Linked DNA regions of Homo sapiens: regions 1, 2, 3, 5, 6 and 7 are each linked to region 4. Evidence: promoter capture Hi-C in 16 types of primary human blood cells and fetal thymus (Javierre and others, 2016). All regions are on one chromosome and are shown on one strand. Each heading gives the region's core, a stretch centred on a gene start or on the middle of the fragment in contact. The rest is flanking DNA. Distances are from core to core; before and after follow the strand shown. Region 1 holds the start of ST6GALNAC3 (ST6 N-acetylgalactosaminide alpha-2,6-sialyltransferase 3). Region 2 overlaps PDE4B (phosphodiesterase 4B). Region 3 overlaps ACADM (acyl-CoA dehydrogenase medium chain). Region 4 holds the start of ZRANB2 (zinc finger RANBP2-type containing 2). Region 5 overlaps MIER1 (MIER1 transcriptional regulator). Region 6 overlaps SLC35D1 (solute carrier family 35 member D1). Region 7 overlaps MSH4 (mutS homolog 4).

The links. The method cuts DNA at HindIII sites, captures the fragments that hold promoters and counts their contacts. A CHiCAGO score of 5 or more calls a contact.
Region 1: a fragment that was not itself captured here is called in contact with the fragment with the promoter of ZRANB2 in region 4 in 5 of 17 cell types (non-activated CD4 T cells, total B cells, naive CD8 T cells and 2 more); the score reaches 10.4 in non-activated CD4 T cells.
Region 2: a contact is called between a fragment that was not itself captured here and the fragment with the promoter of ZRANB2 in region 4, in 1 of 17 cell types (naive CD8 T cells). The highest score is 10.4, in naive CD8 T cells.
Region 3: a fragment that was not itself captured here is called in contact with the fragment with the promoter of ZRANB2 in region 4 in 4 of 17 cell types (total B cells, total CD8 T cells, total CD4 T cells and 1 more); the score reaches 11.9 in total B cells.
Region 5: a fragment that was not itself captured here is called in contact with the fragment with the promoter of ZRANB2 in region 4 in 5 of 17 cell types (total B cells, naive CD8 T cells, total CD4 T cells and 2 more); the score reaches 11.1 in total B cells.
Region 6: a fragment that was not itself captured here is called in contact with the fragment with the promoter of ZRANB2 in region 4 in 1 of 17 cell types (naive CD8 T cells); the score reaches 5.2 in naive CD8 T cells.
Region 7: a contact is called between a fragment that was not itself captured here and the fragment with the promoter of ZRANB2 in region 4, in 3 of 17 cell types (naive CD8 T cells, total CD8 T cells and non-activated CD4 T cells). The highest score is 5.5, in naive CD8 T cells.

What each region holds. Positions count from the first base shown.
Region 1 is chr1:76,071,938-76,074,796 of GRCh38, forward strand. It overlaps ST6GALNAC3 (ST6 N-acetylgalactosaminide alpha-2,6-sialyltransferase 3), which reads left to right and starts at 2,809. Exons shown (of 5, transcript NM_152996.4): 1 at 2,809-2,859. RefSeq lists a silencer at 2,610-2,809. The HindIII fragment of the contact is 1,782 bases long and covers 401-2,182 here.
Region 2 is chr1:66,330,960-66,333,731 of GRCh38, forward strand. It overlaps PDE4B (phosphodiesterase 4B), which reads left to right. Exons shown (of 17, transcript NM_002600.4): 8 at 1,549-1,661. Among named protein-coding and RNA genes, the nearest start is that of SGIP1, 200 kb to the right of the region's middle. RefSeq lists enhancers at 2,554-2,613, 2,644-2,693. The HindIII fragment of the contact is 841 bases long and covers 1,103-1,943 here.
Region 3 is chr1:75,730,368-75,733,569 of GRCh38, forward strand. ACADM (acyl-CoA dehydrogenase medium chain) reads left to right here. Exons shown (of 12, transcript NM_000016.6): 3 at 2,277-2,374; 4 at 2,486-2,555; 5 at 3,161-3,202. Among named protein-coding and RNA genes, the nearest start is that of ACADM, 7.3 kb to the left of the region's middle. The HindIII fragment of the contact is 1,211 bases long and covers 1,348-2,558 here.
Region 4 is chr1:71,079,398-71,082,481 of GRCh38, forward strand. ZRANB2 (zinc finger RANBP2-type containing 2) reads right to left here and starts at 1,638. Exons shown (of 10, transcript NM_203350.3): 1 at 1,543-1,638. The coding sequence starts at 1,598. It overlaps ZRANB2-DT (ZRANB2 divergent transcript), which reads left to right and starts at 1,927. Exons shown (of 4, transcript NR_046217.1): 1 at 1,927-2,016. RefSeq lists an enhancer at 1,588-1,877. The HindIII fragment of the contact is 3,322 bases long and covers 1,493-3,084 here.
Region 5 is chr1:66,927,013-66,930,044 of GRCh38, forward strand. All of the region lies in intron 2 of MIER1 (MIER1 transcriptional regulator), which reads left to right. Among named protein-coding and RNA genes, the nearest start is that of MIER1, 3.5 kb to the left of the region's middle. RefSeq lists a silencer at 2,941-3,032. The HindIII fragment of the contact is 5,334 bases long and covers 1-3,032 here.
Region 6 is chr1:67,048,583-67,051,795 of GRCh38, forward strand. SLC35D1 (solute carrier family 35 member D1) reads right to left here. Exons shown (of 12, transcript NM_015139.3): 5 at 1,851-1,922; 6 at 1,200-1,268. Among named protein-coding and RNA genes, the nearest start is that of SLC35D1, 4.0 kb to the right of the region's middle. The HindIII fragment of the contact is 3,063 bases long and covers 246-3,213 here.
Region 7 is chr1:75,798,182-75,801,339 of GRCh38, forward strand. The region is part of intron 1 of MSH4 (mutS homolog 4); the gene reads left to right. Among named protein-coding and RNA genes, the nearest start is that of MSH4, 2.9 kb to the left of the region's middle. The HindIII fragment of the contact is 2,265 bases long and covers 218-2,482 here.

The sequences.
Region 1 (2,859 bases), core at 42-2,541, 5.0 Mb after region 4:
ACAGAAATTGGGCTTCTAACATACTGGACAGCTGAATGTAGCAGTTAAGATGGCAAACCCACAAGTCCCTAGATTCAAACCCCTGTTCCCCTAGTTACCAGCTGGGGATGATAACATCCATGTGGATGTTGTGAGGATCAAATGAGATACTTTCTTTAATTGCAGGATGCTCCATTTTGTTATTATTATTTTTGGAAATAGAAACTCTTGGCTTTAAGTCACATAATGTTAGAGCTGGAAAATTATGCTACACCTATGGATTTGACTAAGCTGTTCCTGTAGTTTGGCCAGTTTTAAAACAAAAAAATCCTGGCAACACACTCCTATCCTCCCAGCCCCAACAAATCTGGCTATCTCCATTCCCTGGTAGGTTCAAAACCTGTTTTTATTTCCATCCAAAAGCTTCCCCCCCACCCCCAGACATCGAGTGGTCCATCTAAAACAGTGATTGTTAATACTGTTTTGTAAATCTTCCAGTCCAGATTTATTCTAGAACTTGAGTTTGTTTTTAGATTGTTATAAATGTGCCTTTATTTCTAGCTGTTTGACATAACTTTTGGATGTTAATAAAAAAAATAACACCTTGGGAAGTATGGACATGGGTGGATAGAAATGTAATTGAGAAAGCCATATCCAAGTAGATTGAGGGAATTAGTAAAGGCCTCATCACGGCATACCCAAGTCATAACATGTTAAAAGTTTGCTCCGTTGGTGTTCATCCTCCTGAGACACCCAAGGCTGATGGCAATTATCCTATTCATCTTCTCCCACAAGTCTGTCTTTAGCGGAAGATTTTTTTCTTTACATAAAGAGCTATCATATAAAAAGTGCTCATAGTGCCAGAAATTGAGGTAAATGCAATTTGCAAACATTATTATCTCATTTAATTCTCTTGAGGATAGATAATATTAGATAAGGTAAGGATTAAAGAGAGGTTAAGAAACTTGATCAAGGACACCCAGCAGGGAAGTACTTAGCAGGGCTGTTCACTAGGGCCTGCTGTTTCTCTTTCCAGATGTACAGACTTTCTAGAGAGAACGATGTGCTCTGCCCACCCTCACCCCTTTGCTCTGCTGTTCTGCCAGGGACATGCAGGAGACGGAGGCCTTCCTCTTAACCGCAAGAGGCCTTCCTTTTTTACTAATATTCCTCAGCACAGACCCTTTACGGGTGTCGGGCTGGGGGACGGTCAGGTGTTTCTCTTTCTCCTTCCTGAGATCTTTGCTTCCAATTTGGCTAAGGCCCTTTCCATGTTATAGTATCATGTATCTCTTATTCTTGTCTTTCTCACTTAACTGTGAGCCCACCTTGATGTTAGATATTCTGAAAGTCATTCTCCTATCCCTGAAAGGTCTTCAATAAAGATTTTTCCTCCACTTAGTGGAAGGTGAATAAAGTTTATTCTTCCATTTAGTAGTGGCTCAATAAAAAAGTTTGTGGAATCAATCAAGGGATGAGTAAATGAATGAAATACTGAATTTTCCTGGCCTATGAAGGACCATGAGCTAAAGCAGCGGTTTAAAGTATATAGTCCCAAACAAAGAATTCTTACTAAAAACACACCGGATCTGTAAGGCAGAGGAGGGAGGGGCGGGAGGAAGAAGTCGAAGAGCAGGGTGTGGTATTCCAGGGAGACTGAAGACAGGAGCTTCCCATGGGACAGGCAGTTCATCCACAGGCTCAGCTTCTGCAACCTCCTTCCTGTGGTTACTCCTGCTCTCTAAGAATTCTGCATGTTCTCATCAAGAAAATACCAAATTCCTTGAAAGCCTGGATTCTGCCTTGTGGTTTGTGAGCCAATCTCATGACACCACCAGCCCACAGTGCTTTTCCTGATTCCATGGAGGCAAACTAGACGGAGCTTCTAGCAAGTGAAACTTCTTTTGGGTAGATATTTGGGGGCCGCTTTTAAAATTTTTCTGACAGACCAAGTGGTAAAAATCTGTGTGTGTACACGGAATGCTCTCTCCCTTCTGCAATGCGTTTACTCTCCTTGTAGAAATAACTGCTTCTCTTAGCCGGCTCTTGCTTGGAGCAGGGAAGAGCAAAGTCCTATCATGTACACATACACAGTTTATAAACATATACTGTACAATCAACATGTACATATATAATACAATATACACATGTGTGCATCCTGTATCTGTATACTGTATATCATGCATATACAATTTCATAAACAAGCTTGTACCAGGAAAAGGCAATAATTTATATATTATACACACATACATGTATATGTAAAATATGTACACACACACAAAATATACCATACAGAGTGTAAGGTTCATGACGTCTTTCTTTCGTTGATATTTGTGCTCACTTATTAGCGGTAAATTATTAATTTTAGATAAGCCCATCACAGAGTGAAGGCTCAATCCTTGAACAGCCCAGGGAGAACTTCGTTGCTACTTTTGAAAAGCCCTTTGATGTGCCCAAAGTCTCCAGAAGGGCGATGCCAAACCCACTCAACTTTGACAAAGTGTGAAACGTCTGTAAAAAGGAGTTCTCTGATGTGTGAGAGGAGACGGAACCGAGAAGAAAAGGCCGTACTCTGCCCCCCGCGGGACCCAGGTCCCCGCCTGCTGCAGAGCGCACTCTGCGCACGTCGAGCCGCGAAAGGTTCACAGAAGAAAACAAGAGAAAGAAGTAGCAGGCACTGAGGAGCCGCCGGCGCCGGCGCCCAGGACGGCACGTGACCCGGGGGCGGGGCCGCGCGGGCCGCGGGCCAGTGGATGGGGACGGGGGCGGGGCCGCGGCTCGGGGGGCGGGGTCTGTGGCGGCGCAGCTTACACCGCGGTCCCCTTATTTGGATCTGCGGGAATGTGGGCTGGAGAGGTCCTGCCGTGGTACCAGCCTCCA
Region 2 (2,772 bases), core at 273-2,772, 4.7 Mb before region 4:
TAAGCATGACATACAGGATATTGAATTTAACCCCTGTTTATCTTGAAGTGTATGAATATTTCGGGGATAAACAAAGCAACTATTCTTTGAAATATGCGTCTGTGGCCAAGTGATTCCAGTTACTTGGAATCACAGTTCTGTTGATTCTCTTTTCTGCTTCAAGTATTTGCACACCACAGACATAAGATTATTCATATAATAATTTTTAAAAACCATGTGGTCTTGCTAGAATTTCTGTATAAATGTATAAAAATGTCTTTTAAATATGGCAGGAATGTTATATTAGAACTCCATGTGAGATTTTACATTTTATTAGTGCCTATTGTGTGTTTGTATTTCAGAAATCTTGGTAGAGTTTATAAATGCTATTTCTCTCAAAAACAGTCGTGTATATAGGAGAGTCCAAGTGCTTTTTACAACTCTCTGTAGCTTCATTAATTCATCTAGCATTTATAAAGTTATTTCAGTGCTTATTAAGATAGATTTCTTAAGCCAGTAACCTGAAGTATTTGTTTAGATTCACAAACTTTTGGATATAAAATGACATGTTAAGGATATGTAAAAAGAATTTTAATTATCTAGCAAAAAAATGTGATTTTCACAACAATATTTTTTGTGTGAAATACCAACAATATTTCCAGAAAGTCTAGAGTCTTAGGGCAACAAATTGGAGCCCCCAGCTTTAATCAAAATAAAAATCTGCAGAGTGTTCACATCTGGCTCCACCTGAAAGTCCGGTTCAGAATTTCCCTGTGATCCTGGCACTTGCAGAAGGGAAGTTTTAGCTTTGTTTAGTATAACAAGAGCTGCAGGACTCCCAGGCCAATAAACGTGTTCACGTAAAACTCCAGACAGCTTCTTTTAGACTGGAGTCTTATCAGGGAGACCTCATTTTCCCTCTAATTAAAGGAAAGATTTAAGGGAGAGAAAGGAATAGCCTATGCCTCTTACTTGTGCGGGTCAGTGTTCGCTGAATTAGAAGTTATTCCAACATGAACACAATCCTCAGGATGAATGACTGCCTAGACTTTGAACGTAATGGTCAACCAGTTTTCACCCGAATTTTGACTGTTTCATTTAGAAGAAAAGCAAAATGAGAAAAAGCTTTCCTCATTTCTCCTTGAGATGGCAAAGCACTCAGAAATGACATCACATACCCTAAAGAACCCTGGGATGACTAAGGCAGAGAGAGTCTGAGAAAACTCTTTGGTGCTTCTGCCTTTAGTTTTAGGACACATTTATGCAGATGAGCTTATAAGAGACCGTTCCCTCCGCCTTCTTCCTCAGAGGAAGTTTCTTGGTAGATCACCGACACCTCATCCAGGCGGGGGGTTGGGGGGAAACTTGGCACCAGCCATCCCAGGCAGAGCACCACTGTGATTTGTTCTCCTGGTGGAGAGAGCTGGAAGGAAGGAGCCAGCGTGCAAATAATGAAGGAGCACGGGGGCACCTTCAGTAGCACCGGAATCAGCGGTGGTAGCGGTGACTCTGCTATGGACAGCCTGCAGCCGCTCCAGCCTAACTACATGCCTGTGTGTTTGTTTGCAGAAGAATCTTATCAAAAATTAGCAATGGAAACGCTGGAGGAATTAGACTGGTGTTTAGACCAGCTAGAGACCATACAGACCTACCGGTCTGTCAGTGAGATGGCTTCTAACAAGGTAAGAGATGATCTTTTTATTCATTAAAGTGTGATCATGCAGGGAGCTCCAGCTCCCCTCACCCCTGTCTGCAGCAGAGTGCACCAGGGAATGCTACCAACTCTAAGAATATGTTTGTTGCTTTGTCTAGAAGATTCTCTTCCAAAGTGTCACACTCTACTTGTGTCTTGATGCTACAGCAAAAGTTTAAAATCCTCAGTACGCTTCAATTTCCAGAAACAAAACTTCTCTCTTACTGATGCAGTTTGGAATAGGTTTAAGGTGAGAGATGTCTGTCTGTAAAGCTTCCAAATCAATATAACATTGAAAGTGCTTTAAAATTTTTTTACAATTATCAGGAAGCTAAAATCTGAGTTAGTCTTGTTGCATTGCAATCAGGTGTCACATATTTATTTTTAAACAAGAAAGTAGTTTAACCTTCATATATCAATGGGAAAGAATGGTCTGTGTTGAAGTTTGATAAATTCCCTCTAAAAAGAAGGATATCCTGGGATTTTCTAAGATTTCTTTTGCGATGCTGGCATGACCTAAGATAAAAAAGAAACAATATGCTTTGTCTCCAAAACCAGAGGTTTTCTTTAAGTTTGCTGATTTTCATAGTGAAATCATTTGAAATTGCTTCATGCATACTGCCCCCAAAATGGTTTTATTTACAATCCCCAGACAAAGCTTAATGTTGAAGAGCCTTAATTATCTATCATTATATCATTTGTTTAATTAACACCTGGACTTAGAATGCTAATTTATGTAGTGAGAGTTGTTGCTTTTTGTTTGTATTTTTACCTTGGAGAATATTATATTAAATACATATTGCTATAAAGTTATACAAAGTTATATATGTGTGTGTACACACACACACACACACATACACTTTGTTAAAAAGCCTTACACCATACCCTCATAGGTGCACATTTCAGAGTCCCAGTCATTCTAGCCTGAAGTATCATCTTGTTGTCTACGTTTCTGGGGCTGAGAAGATATTTTGCTCCACACCTGCCAGCATGCCCTTTCCAGCCCTGAGGTGCACCAGTGAGTGTGTGTCCCTTCTCCAGCTTTCCTGGGGTAAAAGTACCACCTTTGGATCAAGGCTTGCTGGCTGCGGCTCAGAGGA
Region 3 (3,202 bases), core at 703-3,202, 4.7 Mb after region 4:
CTATTCCTTGAACCAGTTGCATCTGGTTCTTTATCTGTAAAGTGGAAATAATATCTATAACACAGAATTTCTATGAAGATTAAATTATATGCTGTATTTAAAGCCCCTAGCACTTAGTGACTGGATCAAAGTAGTTTCTCAATAAATAATACATAATACATACTTGTCATTTTTCCTTTTTTTTTTTTTTAAGAGACAGGGTTTCACTCTGTCACCCAAGCTGGATGCAACCTTGACCTCTGGGGCTCCATGGATTCTCTCGCCTCAGCTTCCTGAGCAGTTAGGACAATAGGTCCATGTCAACCACACCTAGCTGATTTTTTAAATTTTTAAATGTTTTGTTGAGACAGGATCTTGCTATATTGCTCAGGCTGGCCCCAAACTCCTGGCCTCAAATGGTTCACCTGCCTCAGCCTCCCAAAATTCTAGAATTATAGGCATGAGCTACCGTGCCCAGACTTTCTCTACCCTCTATCTACCTGCAAGATTGCTATCAACTGGCACCAATCTTAGAAGTAAAGCTGTGATAGAGAGAACACTGGACTGAAATTCTTAAGTATACTTCTGCTAATTCATTGTGAGACTGATACTAGAATTTCCTTACTCTGCATTAGTTTATCAATAAAAAGAGAGATTTGGCTGGGCGCAGTGGCTCGGGCCTGTAATCCCAGCACTTTGGGAGGCCGAGGTGGGCGGATCACGAGGTCAGAAGATCGAGATCCTGGTGAAACCCCGTCTCTACTAAAAATACAAAAAAAAAAATTAGCCGGGCGCGGTGGCAGGCACCTGTAGTCCCAGCTGCTCAGGAGGCTGAGACAGGAGAATGGCGTGAACCCGGGAGGCGGAGCTTGCAGTGAGCCTAGATTGCGCCACTGCACTCCAGTCTGGGCGACAGAGCGAGACTCCGTCTCAAAAAAAAAAAAAAAAAAAAAAAAAAAGAGATTTGATCTTATGCTCTTCAATTCAGCACCAGAATTCAGCTTTTATGTATTGTTTCTCACATCCCCATACAAATGATTACTGTAGTCTTAAACATTCCTCTGTGCATTTGCTCTCATTTTTCTTGCTTGAAATACCCTATTATCTCTTAAATTTTACCTAATCTTTGACGTTAGATGCAACCACATTAAAACACAAGGATACCATGGATTTGAAAAGATGCAGTTAGCAATTGACTCCTCTCCTCAATCAAGCCACCATACTAATTTCATTAATTTTAAAACAATCCCTTATTTTATGTAAACAAATTGTTGGACACCATTTATTAGCATTGCAGCAGGATTTTATGTTATTATCTTTTGAAAAACCTTTCTACCACTTTTACCAGTTGCTTTGTGCTAATTTATAAGCTTGTCTGAGTTTAAAGGAGCTGTAAGCCTAGGCATGGTGTCTCATGCTTGTAATCCCAGCACTTTAGGAGACCACGGCAGGAGGATTGCTTGAGGCCACGAGTTCAAGACCAGCCTGGCATCATAGTGAGACCCTGTCTCTGTGAAAACAAAAAAAATGAAATAGATAGGGTGAGGTGGCTCCCAGCACTTTGGGAGGCCAAGATGGGAGAATCATTTGAGCCCAGGAGTTCTAGACCCATTTGGGCAACATGGCAAAACCCTGTATCTACAAAAATTACAAAAATTAGCCAGATATGGTGGCATGTGCCTGTGATCCCAGCTAGTTGAGAAGCTGTGGTGGGAAGATCATTTAAGGCCAGGAGGTCGAGGCTACAGTGAGTCGTAATTGCACCACTGCACTCCAGCCTGAGTGACAAAATGAGACTGTCTCAAAAAAAAAAAGCAAAATTATGATATTGATATTCTTATATGACACTTTGAAATAAGTTTTATTGCTTTATGTCACTGAGTGTGTTTCATCTATTTCGTTAGATTGATTCTTGTCGTCAGGGAGATGTCTTGTATATTAGTTTCACTTCAGTGTTAGCAAACATTTGATAAATTGGCTTAGGAACTAATAATAAGTTAAACGTTTTTTATATCACCAATTGGAAAAGAAAAACTCACTTGAGCTCTACAGGTTAATATCTATTACTCATTTGTAAAAGTTAAAAATCTTACCTATTTCCTTTAGCATTTGTATTGACATAGGTTTATTTATATTGTGTAGTGAACTCTTGATTAGTCAAAAAATGCACTGTAGTCTGAGTTTCTGATAATCAAGGATTTAAGTCCCCACAATAAATACACATTTCTACATACTGACTTCATAGGACATTTTTCCTTGTTATCCAGTTTTAACTTTTCTAAATAATTTTCCCTTAGAGTTCACCGAACAGCAGAAAGAATTTCAAGCTACTGCTCGTAAATTTGCCAGAGAGGAAATCATCCCAGTGGCTGCAGAATATGATAAAACTGGTGAAGTAGGTATATACATTTTAAAGAGGGAAAAATCTTTTACATTTTTTACAAGATTATGTAATCAAACTATCTGGATTTCAAAATATATTTTAACTCAGTTCTTTTTCTTCTAGTATCCAGTCCCCCTAATTAGAAGAGCCTGGGAACTTGGTTTAATGAACACACACATTCCAGAGAACTGTGGTAAGCTTTCTTTATATTTTTAATACTGGAATGCATATGAGTAAGAAAAATTGTGGAACTCTACTCAGTCATTTTTTTCAAATATTTCTTGCCATTAAATGACTTTCTACCTTTGTCTTCCTGCTCAGACTACAGTGTTTGCCCACTTTTGGAAGCTTGCACTCTATACCTAGATGCGTTTTTCCTTCTTCTAACTGGTTCCAACCTTAACTTGCACCTAAACCTTGGTAACTTCCGTTTCTAGAGTTGGTCAATTTGTTGTGTTTTATTCCTATCTTCTATATTACATTTTATTGAGTCTTTTTTGTGAACCATGATTCTTTTCCTCAGACCCAGTTTTAGAGTTGAATTGAGTTTTAACAAAATCAAGTTAGAACAGGAATACAGGTTCAAATTACAAATAGTAAAATAATTTTTTGAAAATTTTAGAGCTTTAAGAAAGTATAATTTCTTATTGTGCCAGCCAGAACACATGTAGATATTATATTGCAAATTTCCTTTTAAAACAAATTTTGGTCATATTGAAAGCAATTAAAATAGTTTACCTTTATTTCTATTGTGATGTACTACATATTACAATGTGTTGAAACATTTTGATACTGTAGGAGGTCTTGGACTTGGAACTTTTGATGCTTGTTTAATTAGTG
Region 4 (3,084 bases), core at 388-2,887:
GAAGTGTACGTGTATATTGGTAAAAGTATGTTAAATGCTCTGGATAACATGGAATGCTTAAACTTTAAAAAGCTGATTTTTAAGGCATTATACTAGAATACAATACAGATGTGAAGTATGGGATGACACTAAAGTGAAACACTCTAAATAATATTTAGGTTAAGTTTTTCCCCTAAAAATATTCCTTTTAACTCCATTAAGCATGGAAAATATACTCTGAAAATTTATCCTGCATTTAAACATATTGTACAAACAACATTCTATTCATATATTTGTAAATGAGTTGAAATGAACTCTCATTGAGAGTCCTACCTCTGGGTGTGCTGTCATTAAAGACACTGACAAAAGCACATTATTTTACAGGTAACAACAAAGTCAGAAGTTGTTGTTCTAAATCTTTTGAACGTTTTCAATAATGTCTTACCACTCAGAGCAATACTATCCATAACATATAACTTTGGTTCTATTCAGTATCATTTGTTAGGCTTGAACTACTCCTTCAGGTCATCTTAATATCAAATTACTATCAATAGCCACCAATTAGAATTTGCTACACGTCACTGTTTACACACCCTATCCATGTTATTTCATGTTTTCATTAAAAAAAAAATTCTATTCCTTTTTTAGCAGTTAAATAAGTAATAGAATTTTAACTAAACCCAGGTTTATTTCAAAGTTTTTGCTTTTTACAATCAAAACCTATTTGTGGCTAACTTAGGTACAACAAATAAAAGGCTTTTATGTGAACATGAGTTGTACATTAAATTATTTTCCATGTTATTTCCGAATAGATACACCTATTTGTGCACCCTTCAAAAAAAATCTGATTAACTATCTAGTCGAGTACTGGCTTTGGCAACAATGTCAAAAAGCAGAGCCACTAACACACGTGCTTCTCTGCTGCAGGCATCTTAAGGGCTGAGTAGGCAAAAACACAGGCCTCTTCCCTCCTTTTCGGCTCTAAGGAGGCGAAAAGCCCAATTCTTGTGGAGAAATGATCCACAAAGAAAATGTCAGAATTTCCCAAACCGAAGAGGGTAGAGCTTCCGGAAAAGGGGAAAATAGTATGGAGGAAAAGTTTGAGTAAAAATACAAAACAAGGTGAACTATAAGAGGCAAAAGGACGAGTGCGAGAAAGCAATATTTTCCGTGAACAAGAGTAAAGTTCTGCAGAGAAAAGTCACGTGGGGGAGATCCAACACCAAGCTGGCCTGACTGGAGAGGTTTCCTATCGCTAAAACCTGGCCGGGGCGGGGGAGGGGGGTGGGGGCAAAAAGGTAGGCCATCTCGCACTCTAAAAAGAGAGGCTACCTTGCGGAGGTAATGTCGAGGAAACGCTGAAGACATATCTAGAACAAAGGCTCCCGGAAAGACCTCTCTCGTGAGGAGATTGGGAGCCTTCTTCCCGCCAGGGAACTGGCGGTTCGCCGCCTCAACCCGTCTTAAGGCACAGAAAATCATAAAAAAGGAAAATGCCGGACGGACCTCGGAAAGCTTCCACTAACAAACTCCGTCCCAATTCAGGACCCTTCTTGAACTCACTTTTTGTCAGGGCAAATCCAGTCCCCGTCACTGACTCGGAAATTCTTGGTCGACATCTTGAACGCCACCAGCACAGCCACCCGCAGCTATGTCTTCACAGGAGGAAAACGGGCCGGGGACTTTCGGCAACTCGGGGCTGTCCCCACACTGCCTGACTCGCGCCTACTACTGTGTCAGGGTTTGATAATGAGGGAACTAGCCAGGAATTCAGCTTGTACGTTGTTGTCCAGACTAAGATGCCTGTGCTACTGTTTGTTAGATGGAAAAGTTAAAATACAAATATCTTTTCTAGAACTAAACTCACAGGCGCCATAAGGACAACCCAGGCAGGAGGCCTTCGTGGCACTAGAAGCCTCGGAGAGCCCCCTACAGGTGGGAGGACCCAAGAGTAAAGTACTTCCGCTTCCTTAGGTGGAGCTGGAAAGGTGGAGGCGGAAGTGACTGATCAATTCAGGGGCGTGGGGTTCGTTTAGGGTAAGAGGCGGCTCGGGCTCTTCAAGTGTTTAGAGAAATTATTTTAATAAGGCATAAAAATTCTGTTATTTCATACACATGGGATGTCGTTTGGAAACCTATTTTTATATATACATAAATAGGTGTAACAGATAAGTAAGCAACTTATACATGGGAACCAGCTGGTAATTTTAAAACTGAGACATTGTCAACACTGTTTAAATTACCAGTGTCTTTTCTGATACCATCCCATTACTTTCTTCCACAGATAACACTTTCCCATATTTGGGATTTATTCTTTTGCTTTTTAAAAATTTATGTACGTTGTTAGTCCAAACTGCACCATTTTTGTAAGCCCCCCTGCCATTTTGCAGACCTTAGTCAAAGTGAAACATTCCACGGGGTTCGGGCGTGAGAAACAGGCTGCCTCTTATACTCTGCTGGGAGAAAGTACCACATTCCACTGGAACAAGGGCCAGAGCCGCCTCGTCCTGGGAACACCTTATCAACATGTTCCCAGGAAGCAGGCCATGGCCCCCCAGACCACTCCCACCCAGGCCTATAAATCACCCCAGCCTGTAAGAAGCAACGGGCACTGGCATTAAGCTGGTCTCCCACCTCTGTAGGTCTTATGCTGGACATAAATCCTGTATTTGTTGTTAAGCCACCCTCTCTTTCTTTAATCCTTGCCTTCCCTTCAAAACCTAACATACATGTATGTTTAATTTTATGAGCTGTGTAAGCATAGTTGATTCTGTACTCTTTTTTTGTTCATTATGCTTCTAAATTAATCCTAGGTAGTTGCATGTAGAAGTGTATAGGTGTAATTCTTTTATTTGCACTGATGTATACTGATACTATTCCGTTTTGTGGTTTTGTGACAGTTTATTCCTTCTGTTTCTCAGGCTTGGTATTACAAACAACACCAGTATGAGCATTCTTATGCATAGATTCTGGTATATAAATGCATTAATTTTTTTTAGAATACAGCATATACAGTCATGCCTCACTTAATGATAGGGATATGTTCTGAGAAATGCCACTTTCGGCAATTGTGCTGTTGTGTGAACATCATAGAATGTGCTTACA
Region 5 (3,032 bases), core at 204-2,703, 4.2 Mb before region 4:
TTGTTCATTGGTTCGTTTAAGGTACTGGTTGAAGTAAGATTGTGCTCCTAAATGCTTTTGTTAAAAGCATAATAATAACTGAGGGGTTTGTGTGTGCGTGCGCCTTATAGCCTCTATAGAATTGTTCAATAACTTTTGAATGGAAGATTCAGTAAATTGCTTACAAATGATTTATCAATATAATAGCAGTTTTGAGTAGCTTAATGTCATAAAAATTAATGTTACTTTGCCTGAAAATAAGGAGGCTTTTAGGTGGGGAATAGGAGCTGAAGAGGCATTTATTCAGGCTTTGTATAGTGGTTTTTTGTTTTGGGACATTAATCACAAACCTCACATAAAATTGGAATTCAGCACACTTTTTTAGTTTAAAAATTTTATACACAATTCCAACAGAACTACTGTTTTGGATATCACATTAATAAATAACAAAGTGTAATAATTTTAAGCAGACACAATTAATGGTGCATTTTCTTATGCCTTTAGCTCTCTCATGTCCTATTTTCAACTCTTCTAGTATGAATAGGCTTTAAAAATAAATTTTTTTTTGTTAACCCAAGTATAAATATTAACTGTTTGCATTTGGATACAAAGAAGATATCTGTTGAATTAATCCAAAGTGCTGAAGAACTAAGGGTAATGGATGGAAACAACAAGGAGGTAGATTCTGGCATAATAAAAGAAAGAATGTTTTAAACATTTGAACTTTTTTTGAAAAGAGCAGCCTTTTTATGAGATATAGTGAGTCACTGGAGGGGTTTAAACATAGGCAGAAAGCCTGGTAGTAGAAGCATGATGAGAGATTACTATCTTGACAGGGTAGAGAATTGACTAAAAGATCTCTAAGGTCCCATCCAACACTAAAATTCTATAACTAGTGAATAGTTAATTTTTATATATTTAATACTGAAGAGGGTAAGTAAGCGTTTTGAGAAAGACTTTTCATTCCGTAAGGTGGCTCCTGAAAATTTTACAGTTAGGTGTATCACTAAAATAAAATAATAGTGGAAGGATACTGAATTCAGTGGTAATGTGTTACCTATGAATTGCAGTATTAGAGCTGTTTCTTTTTTATAATATCTGAACCTAAAAAACCCACTGAATCCACATTTATAAAAAGGGGAAGGGGAAAAATGTAGAGAGTTTTTTTCCCTCAATAATAATAATACCATTTAAAACTAGTAATATTGATACACAATATTAATAAACTTAAAGAGTTATTTAACAGTAAGATAGATACCCATTCAGAAATGTTTCAGACTTCCATTTTCCTGACAAGTTTAGGATTCATTCAGTAGGTTAATAGACTATGATCCCCTGCTCTTTATCATAGTTGGGATTTCTGTTGGTAGTTTAACTGAAGAATCAAAGATTCAGTGTACTTAAGCAAGTTATTTCTGTACCTTGTATTGTAACACTTTTAATTTTCCTTTGGTAGCCAAATTTCATAAATTAGCTTTCATATGTTAATGGAAAACCCTCCTTCATCTCCATGGTATAAAGCCTGAGTTTGTACCTCTAGGCCCCTAATTGTGTCTGTACCCACCTCAGGTCCATGTATATCCATTGTTCTTTGCCTTCAGCTCTTTTCATTAAGTGTATTGATTGAAAACTATTTGGATATGAACTGACACTTTTAAAAAGTCATTTTTATTTCAAGTCCAGAGGATTGACATAATTCAACAGGGTAACTATTAGAAACTATATACCTCTGCTAAAATATTTATTCCCCCAAGGAATCCTGAAAAACACTTTTATATAAGTTTTCTAAAAAATAAAATGAAAATACTGTACAGTACAGTTAATGGTAAAAATTGTTTGTAGATTTGGGAACCTTAAAGTTTTCCTTTCTCTTCTTTCCCTTGCTTTTCTTTCAGTAGAAAATGTGCATCAGATGTTTATGTTTAATTGGTTTACAGACTGTCTGTGGACTCTTTTCCTGTCAAATTACCAGGTAATGTCCTTTCACTTAGCAGCTACTTCATATATCTGTAAATGCAGTTTATTCATGCACAGATTATTATTGGACATAACAGTTTCAAATTAACATTGAATCTTTGGAAATAGGAAAATGCTTGATAGAGTCTAGAATTTTAAGGGAATATAAATAATTTAATAGCCTCCCCTATATTGCATTATAAGTTAAGTATTAACTTTAAGAAAAATTGTATATGTACACATTTATGCAATGTAGTATTGGTTCACATTATTTGGAAGGAATGAATAATTCTCGTATTTAAATGGTTGATTTTGGTAGCCACTTTTGAAACTGCATTAAGAGGAACCCTTGAAGATTAGGAAAAAAATCCCAGTCTTTTGAAATAAAGACTTTCAAACTGGTTTAGTAAAATATGTTAGTGACTGTTTTAATGTCACCTTTGTGTTATTCAGTATGTGCCTTAGTATAATGGAAGTGAAACATGTTAGTTACTTTGAAATCATTGGTTCTGGCCATCATCAGCATTGGCATCACGGCCAATTGGCAGCTGTAGGCCAATACATTAAAATAAACTTTCAAGTTACAGGCATTTCAGGCATTGCAAATAAGTAGGTTCTCCCTCCATGCTACTAAATAGATGATATCCATAAAACAGTCAATTTTCAGTATTTTAAATTTTGTCTAGTTGTGCAAAATTCAGTACATAACTGTGTTGCTACCGGCATGACAGAAGTGTGTGAGAAAACGCAAATGACATGAGGATGGCGGACTGCCTATCATAACCCCTTCCATTAATTTTTGCTCTGACCTCTCTAGAGATTTGGGGATATAGAATTTTACATTTCCTGTCGGGAATCTACTGATGGAGAAATATTTGTCAAGGCATAACCGCTTTCAAAGCACAGTTCTTGCCGCCGTTGCATCACAGCAACATCCGTTTTTCAGCAAATGCATTTCAAAAACGACCTACATGTAAAATATTACGTATTTTTCCTCTGCTGTGTCAATGCTGGATGTGACTCCTTTGGCACTGTTCCTTGACCTCTCTGATCCGTAGACAACCCCCTCCGCCTGGAGTGGCGGATCAGCTGGAGCC
Region 6 (3,213 bases), core at 527-3,026, 4.0 Mb before region 4:
ATTTTCTTCCACCTATACTACAGGAATGTGATGAAGGTAAATGAGTCAATTCAAGAAGTACACTGGAACTCCTGGATGGAAAACATATGTCTGGCAGAATGTGTGGCATTAGTAAATACATATATGCATGCCCTGGGCTGATTAAAATGTTGTAGAAGACTTCTAGCATCATTATAATTTTCTAGGTCTGTGGGTATACATTTTCCTCATGTATTTTAAAACTAAAACTTAAGAAAAATGGGAAAAGCTTTAATAACCTAATAGAATATCTAAGTTATGGCATTTGTGACATATCTTATGTGAGGCCAATTAAAGCAATGTTATTGTTCATTATTCGAAAAGGCAAGCAAATGTTTCATAGTCATTTTCCTCACCTCACAGAAGAGGAGACATGCTTTTCTTTAGCAGCATGCAAAATTAAGGAACGCCAGGCCAGGCGCGGTGGCTCACGCCTGTAATCCCAGCACTTTGGGAGGCCAAGGCAGGCGGATCACGAGGTCAGGAGATCGAGACCATCCTGGCTAACATGGTGAAACTCCGTGTCTACTAAGAATACAAAAAATTAGCTGGGTGTGGTGGCAGACACCTGTAGTCCCAGCTACTCGGGAGGCTGAGGCAGGAGAATGGCGTAAACCTGGGAGGCGGAGCTTGCAGTGAGCCGAGAGCCCACTACTGGACTCCAGCCTGGGCGACAGAGCAAGACTCCGTCTCAAAAAAAAAAAAAAGAAATGCCACATGGTTTATAAAAACACACAGGCTCTGAAGAAAGCCACAGATTCAAATTTCAGCTCTGCCATTAGCTCTGTGACCTTAAGTAAGTTATTGAACTTAAGTTTTAGTTTCTTCAACTATAAAATAGGAAAATTATACCCATACCTCTCAGAGGTGTTGTGAAGAATACATAATAAGATGTGTAAAATGCCAAACATATTGTGTGGCACATGCTATGTGCTCAGCACAACGACAGTAACAAATTCTAAATTACATCAATTTAAATTTTAACAATCCCAAGAATCTTATTTTTGTCAACCTTTATCTTAATACAGCCAAAAAGATTTAACCTTTTCAAGAGTCTTCTAGATGCTTTTCAAAGATATAATTCTTATTTAGGCAATAAAAAATTGTTATTGATAAGCAATCATTTATTATCAATAATTATTGACAATTTATAATGTGCTAGTCATAGGCCCACATCTTACCTGGCAGCTACAAAGGCTCCAATAATCATTGCAAATACAGTCATTTTAATACCCCAAGAAAAAGTCTTCCTACAAAACAAAAAATTTTAAAATACACACATGACTTTATTCCCACACTCATTTTACAACAGAAGCAAAAAATGGGATATGCTTTCTCAAAAGCTATAAACAATCGTATTTTAAACATTTCTGAGAAACTGATATTTAAAAGAACCCCTTTGATAAAGCAAAAATTTATTGTTATATAAGTTATTACACCCACTTTTAAAATTTTCACCTATTGTCATTATTAGTGAGTTTGAATTTTTGTGAAGCAGAATTTCTTTAACAGAAAAATGTCACATTCATTTGGAGCTAGACATGAACACTATTTAAAACCTATACCTATGATTCTGATCCAGCTTCTCCCGGTGGCAGTAGTACAGAAATTCTAGAAAGTAAATCTCACGTTCAGATAAGATTTTCAACTCTAATTCATAACCTTCCCAACTACCACTCCCACAAACTATCAATTCCAGCAGCCAAGAGAGAGGGTTGCTTAAACTTCTCAAAAGGTAAGGTAGGAACAAGACAAATAATTTAATATCTCACATATGCTGGGCACCTTTTCAAGGTGATTTAAAGAACAGATATATTAGAAACTTAGCTCACTTGAGTAAAACTCCTTCAGCAAACATTGTAAACAGGATGGAGAACCTTCTCAGAACTGTAAACATTGGCAAGCTGGAAAAAAAAAAGATAATTAGGTAAAATAGAATTTAACAATTTGTTTTAAACTAAGATTTTCCAAATTGGTAGTTAAAATAATGCTATTCTTCCATTATGGAAATTCCATACAAATTAATTTATGGTTAAACCCCTGCTTCTCTCTAGAAGCAATTCCTACTTGAAAGCCTACAACAGTTGCTTTTAAAAAACTACTAGAAGTGAGAAACATTAAATTAACTACAAAACTTTATTCTAATTATGCAAAACCCTAAGCTGTAAATATGTCAGTTTTTAATAGAAAAAGGCTTCCTTCTCATTTTTTCACTAGTCTGACCTCCCTTCCCACCCCCTAGACCACCCAAAAACCATCTATGAAAATCTTACCCCATGAAATGCCTTGACTGTCCTTTTGTGGATGTAATTTTGTCTTCATCTAAATTCCCAGAGCATTTTGCTTGTACTAATCAAACATACAGCCTCTTGCAATATAGTTATTTCTGAATATATCTTATCTCACTCCAAAGTGCCTTATACTTAGCTGGCAATCAAAGATAGGTGTGAATGAATGGTTGGATGAGATGGATGAAAAAAAGCAAACTCTACACAAGCAGCACTTTGCAGAAGGCCTGCATTTCTTTCCTGGTGGGTAATGAAATGGAAAAAAATGTCCCACCCATGATAAATCTGACTTCCTTGGAACCCTCTTCAGAGATATCATCTCGGTCATTCTGTCAGGTTTCTCGGGTTTTAAAGGAAGAAATGAAAAACACCTTGTCCTTGATGCTCAAAAATCTCTCCATTCTATTTTACAATGCCAGGGTTTTAGCTTGTGTGGTAGTGGTGAAGCCATGGGGTTTCTGTTAAATGTTTTCTCTATTTGTGTCATTTTAATACCACACACAACCGATATGTACACTACAATAAGAGCAGAAGCCAGAAACCGGGAGGTTAGAGGGAAAGACAGTGTTACCATGGAGAGGAGAGCTATTGCTTCTTTCTGAAAATAAGTATGTTGCCTCTACAGTTACATGCCATGTGTAAGATATTAATAATATTTTTATCAGGGTTCTAGCTGATGTTACCTTACTTCACATTAAAAGAAAAACTGCAAAAGTTCTTGTGCCTACCCTCTAATTTTGCTGTGTGGAAGTTGCCTAAAATATTTATGAACTATACTAAAGAACTGAAATCCCAGAAGCCTAGTATATATCTTCACTATTGTGGCTCTAGAAAAATAATAAAAATTTCCTATCATAGCATTTTATAACATTTTAAGACTTCTAACATCAAAATGAGGGGTAAAAAA
Region 7 (3,158 bases), core at 100-2,599, 4.7 Mb after region 4:
AAACTCCTGGTCTCAAGTGCTCCTGCCTCGGTCTGCCCAAGCATTGGGATTACAGGCATGAGCCACTGCTGCCTGGCCTATGTTTAATGTTCTTGACTGGTCTTCTCTTAAACTCTTTTAATTTGGCTTCCTTGATTCCACTTGCCCCTGTTTTTCTGCTACCTCCCAGAGAATTGCTGTGCCCACCTTTGTTCCCAAATTATGGGCATGTCATTAAAGCTTTTTTTCCTAGGCCACTTCTACCTAGATGTGACTATCTCCACAGCTCAGATCTCATCTACACTCCAGACTTACTTCAGACTGTCTTCTGAAGTTTTTATTGATGGACTAATGGATACCTCAGGCTGACTATATGATTAATTAAATTCCTCTCTGCACTTTTTTTTTTTTTTTGAGACAGAGTCTTGCTCTGTTGCCCAGGCTGGAGTGCAGTGGCATGGTCATGACTCACTGCAGCCTCAAATTCCTGGGCTCAAGCGATCCTCCCACCTCAGCCTCCCGAGTAGCTGGGACCAAGGCATGTGCCCCTACAGATGGCTAATTTAAAAAATTTTTTTGTAGAGACAGTGTTTTCCTACGTTGCCCAGCCTGGTCTCGAACTTCTAGGCTCAAGCGATCCTCCTACCTCAGCCTCCCAAAATGCTGGGATTACAGGTGTGAGCCACTGCACCTAGCCCTCAAACTCTTAAGTGTTCTTCCATCCTTGTAGCTTACTTACTGTACCACCAGAGTTATGTGGAAAATGATCTTATCATGTCCCTTGCCACTTAAATCAGTAGACCTGTATCTGCAGGTAAAAGATCAAACTCTCTAGAAGGATAGCCAAAGCAATTGGGATCGGTTTCTAATCTTTACAGATTTATCCCTCATCATTTAATATTTACCCTGCTTTCTAACAAAACTGAGCTACTTGCAATTCCTTTAAAGCAACATGAATGTTCACATTGTCAGTCTAATCCCTCTCTTCATCAGATGCTTGGTCACCCACTTATTTATCAGTAATGATAACATTCACTAATTTATATGCACCTACTTTGTTCTGGCTTCTTACTAGGCAGACGGTATCTTTGATCCTCACAATAATTTTGCAGAGTAGATTTTTTTTTTGTTCCTGTTTTACAGATAGAACCAAGGCCCAAATAGGCGAACAAAGGTTCAAATTATGTTAGCAGCTGGGGATAATAATCTGTGCTCTCAATGAACTTAAGGTTCAGTAGAGAAGACAGACTTAAAAATCAACAAATACACATTTAAGAAATAACTGTATTTGAGGTATTTATAATTTTTGAGGTAGGTATAATTAAAGTATGGGGACAAAAGTGGGAAAAGACATTTCACAGAGTAAGTGCACCTTGAACTGGTCTTCAAGAATAAGTAGGAAGAAGAATGCCAGCCAAAGGGAAACAGCTGGAGCGCATTCTTGAGAAAAACACGTGCAAAGGCACAGAAGAATCATGTAAAACTGCTAATAATTTTGCTTGGCTAGAGCAGGAGAGTGATCTAGGTAGATAAACTTGAATGTAGATATAGTTGTGAGAATTAGATCTGGGAGACAAATTTAACCCAGAGACCCCCCATATTCAACACCAGGTCTCTGGTTTTGGTGACTGGATAGATGGTAGTAGTATTTTCTGATTCTGGGAATTTTGTAGGCAAAGCAAATTTTAGAGGGAAGATGATGAGCTCTGTTATGGACATGCTGAGTGTGAAAAGCCTGTGGGATATCCATATATTTATATTAAGATAATTGAATATAGGAAACTAGAGCTAAGAAGAGAGAAACTTGAGGGAAATATGGATTTGAAAGTTACCAGTATGTTGGGACCACAGCAGAGAATATGAAGACTATATAGCAAAATAGAGGTCAAGGAAGTAGGAGGAGAATTAAGACAAGTGAATGAGTTTCAAGAAAGGGTATATAGTCTAAAAGTAGTCTGAGAACAAGAAACAGCCCTCTCCATCTCCAGTTTCCGCATCTCCAGTTTCTGGCAACCACTCTCTTCCTTAGCTCCCTAAAGCCTAGAAATGCTAATGGAGCACATTTTATGCTGGTTCTACACACGTCTTTATGATAGCACCCCTACACCCTGTCCACACCTTTGTAAATATTCTCTTTATCAAATTATCCCAGTTTGAGTATATCATTGATTCCTGCTGGAACCCATATAATGAAGTTATATTTTACCCTATGGTGAGTATGGGGAGACACATAGGAATTGTAAGAAAGAGAGATACTGATCAGATTTGCTTTTCAGAAAGATTATTGGTGATGATTCGAAGAATAGATTAGAGAGGTGTAATACTGGAAGCAAGGAGAAGAAGAAGTAGGAAACTTGCACAAGGACCAAAGAAGATACAGGCTTAAAATGGGCTGGGAGGAGTAGAGAGGGATTTAAATTTTAGTGATGTTAAAAAAAAAGAATTCTAGCACTCAGTCACTGAGTGTTAGGGTTGATGAAGGAAGAATTGAGAATGTCTCCTAAGCTTATGACTTGAGTGACAAGGGACAAGCTGGTACAATTAACCATACTGGTAATAAAGAATTAATTTTGAGGGAAAGATAGAGTTCACTTTTGGACATTTAGAATGCTGGGAAGATACCTAAAGGTTTATGCCCAAGAGATAGATATAGTGACCTGGAGCTACATTGTCTGATAGAATATTCTGTGATAATAGAAACGTTTCATACTTATGCTGTCCGATGTGGTAACTAGTAGCCGTATGTGGCTTTTGAGCATTTGAAAATGTTGCTAGTGTGACTGAGGAACAGAATTTAAATTGTATTTAATTTTGATTTAGTTAAATACTCACATATGCTGCTTTATTGAACAATGCAGGTATAGAGCTGAGAACGGTTTTTGCACTTTTGAAGGATTAAAGAATCAAGAATATTTTGTGATATTAAAATTATATGAAATTTAGAATTCAATATGTAGAAATAAAGCCATTTTTAATTGAAACATAGCCATTCTCATTTATTTATGTATTATCTATGACTGCTTTTCTATGATAGTGTCAGAGCTGAGTAATTGTGACAGTGATTATATGGCCCACAAAAGCCTAAAATATTTGCCATCTGGTCCTTTATTTAAAAGTTTATGGGCTGGGCATGATGGCTCATGCCTATAATCCCAGCACTTTGGGAGGCTGAGGTGGGC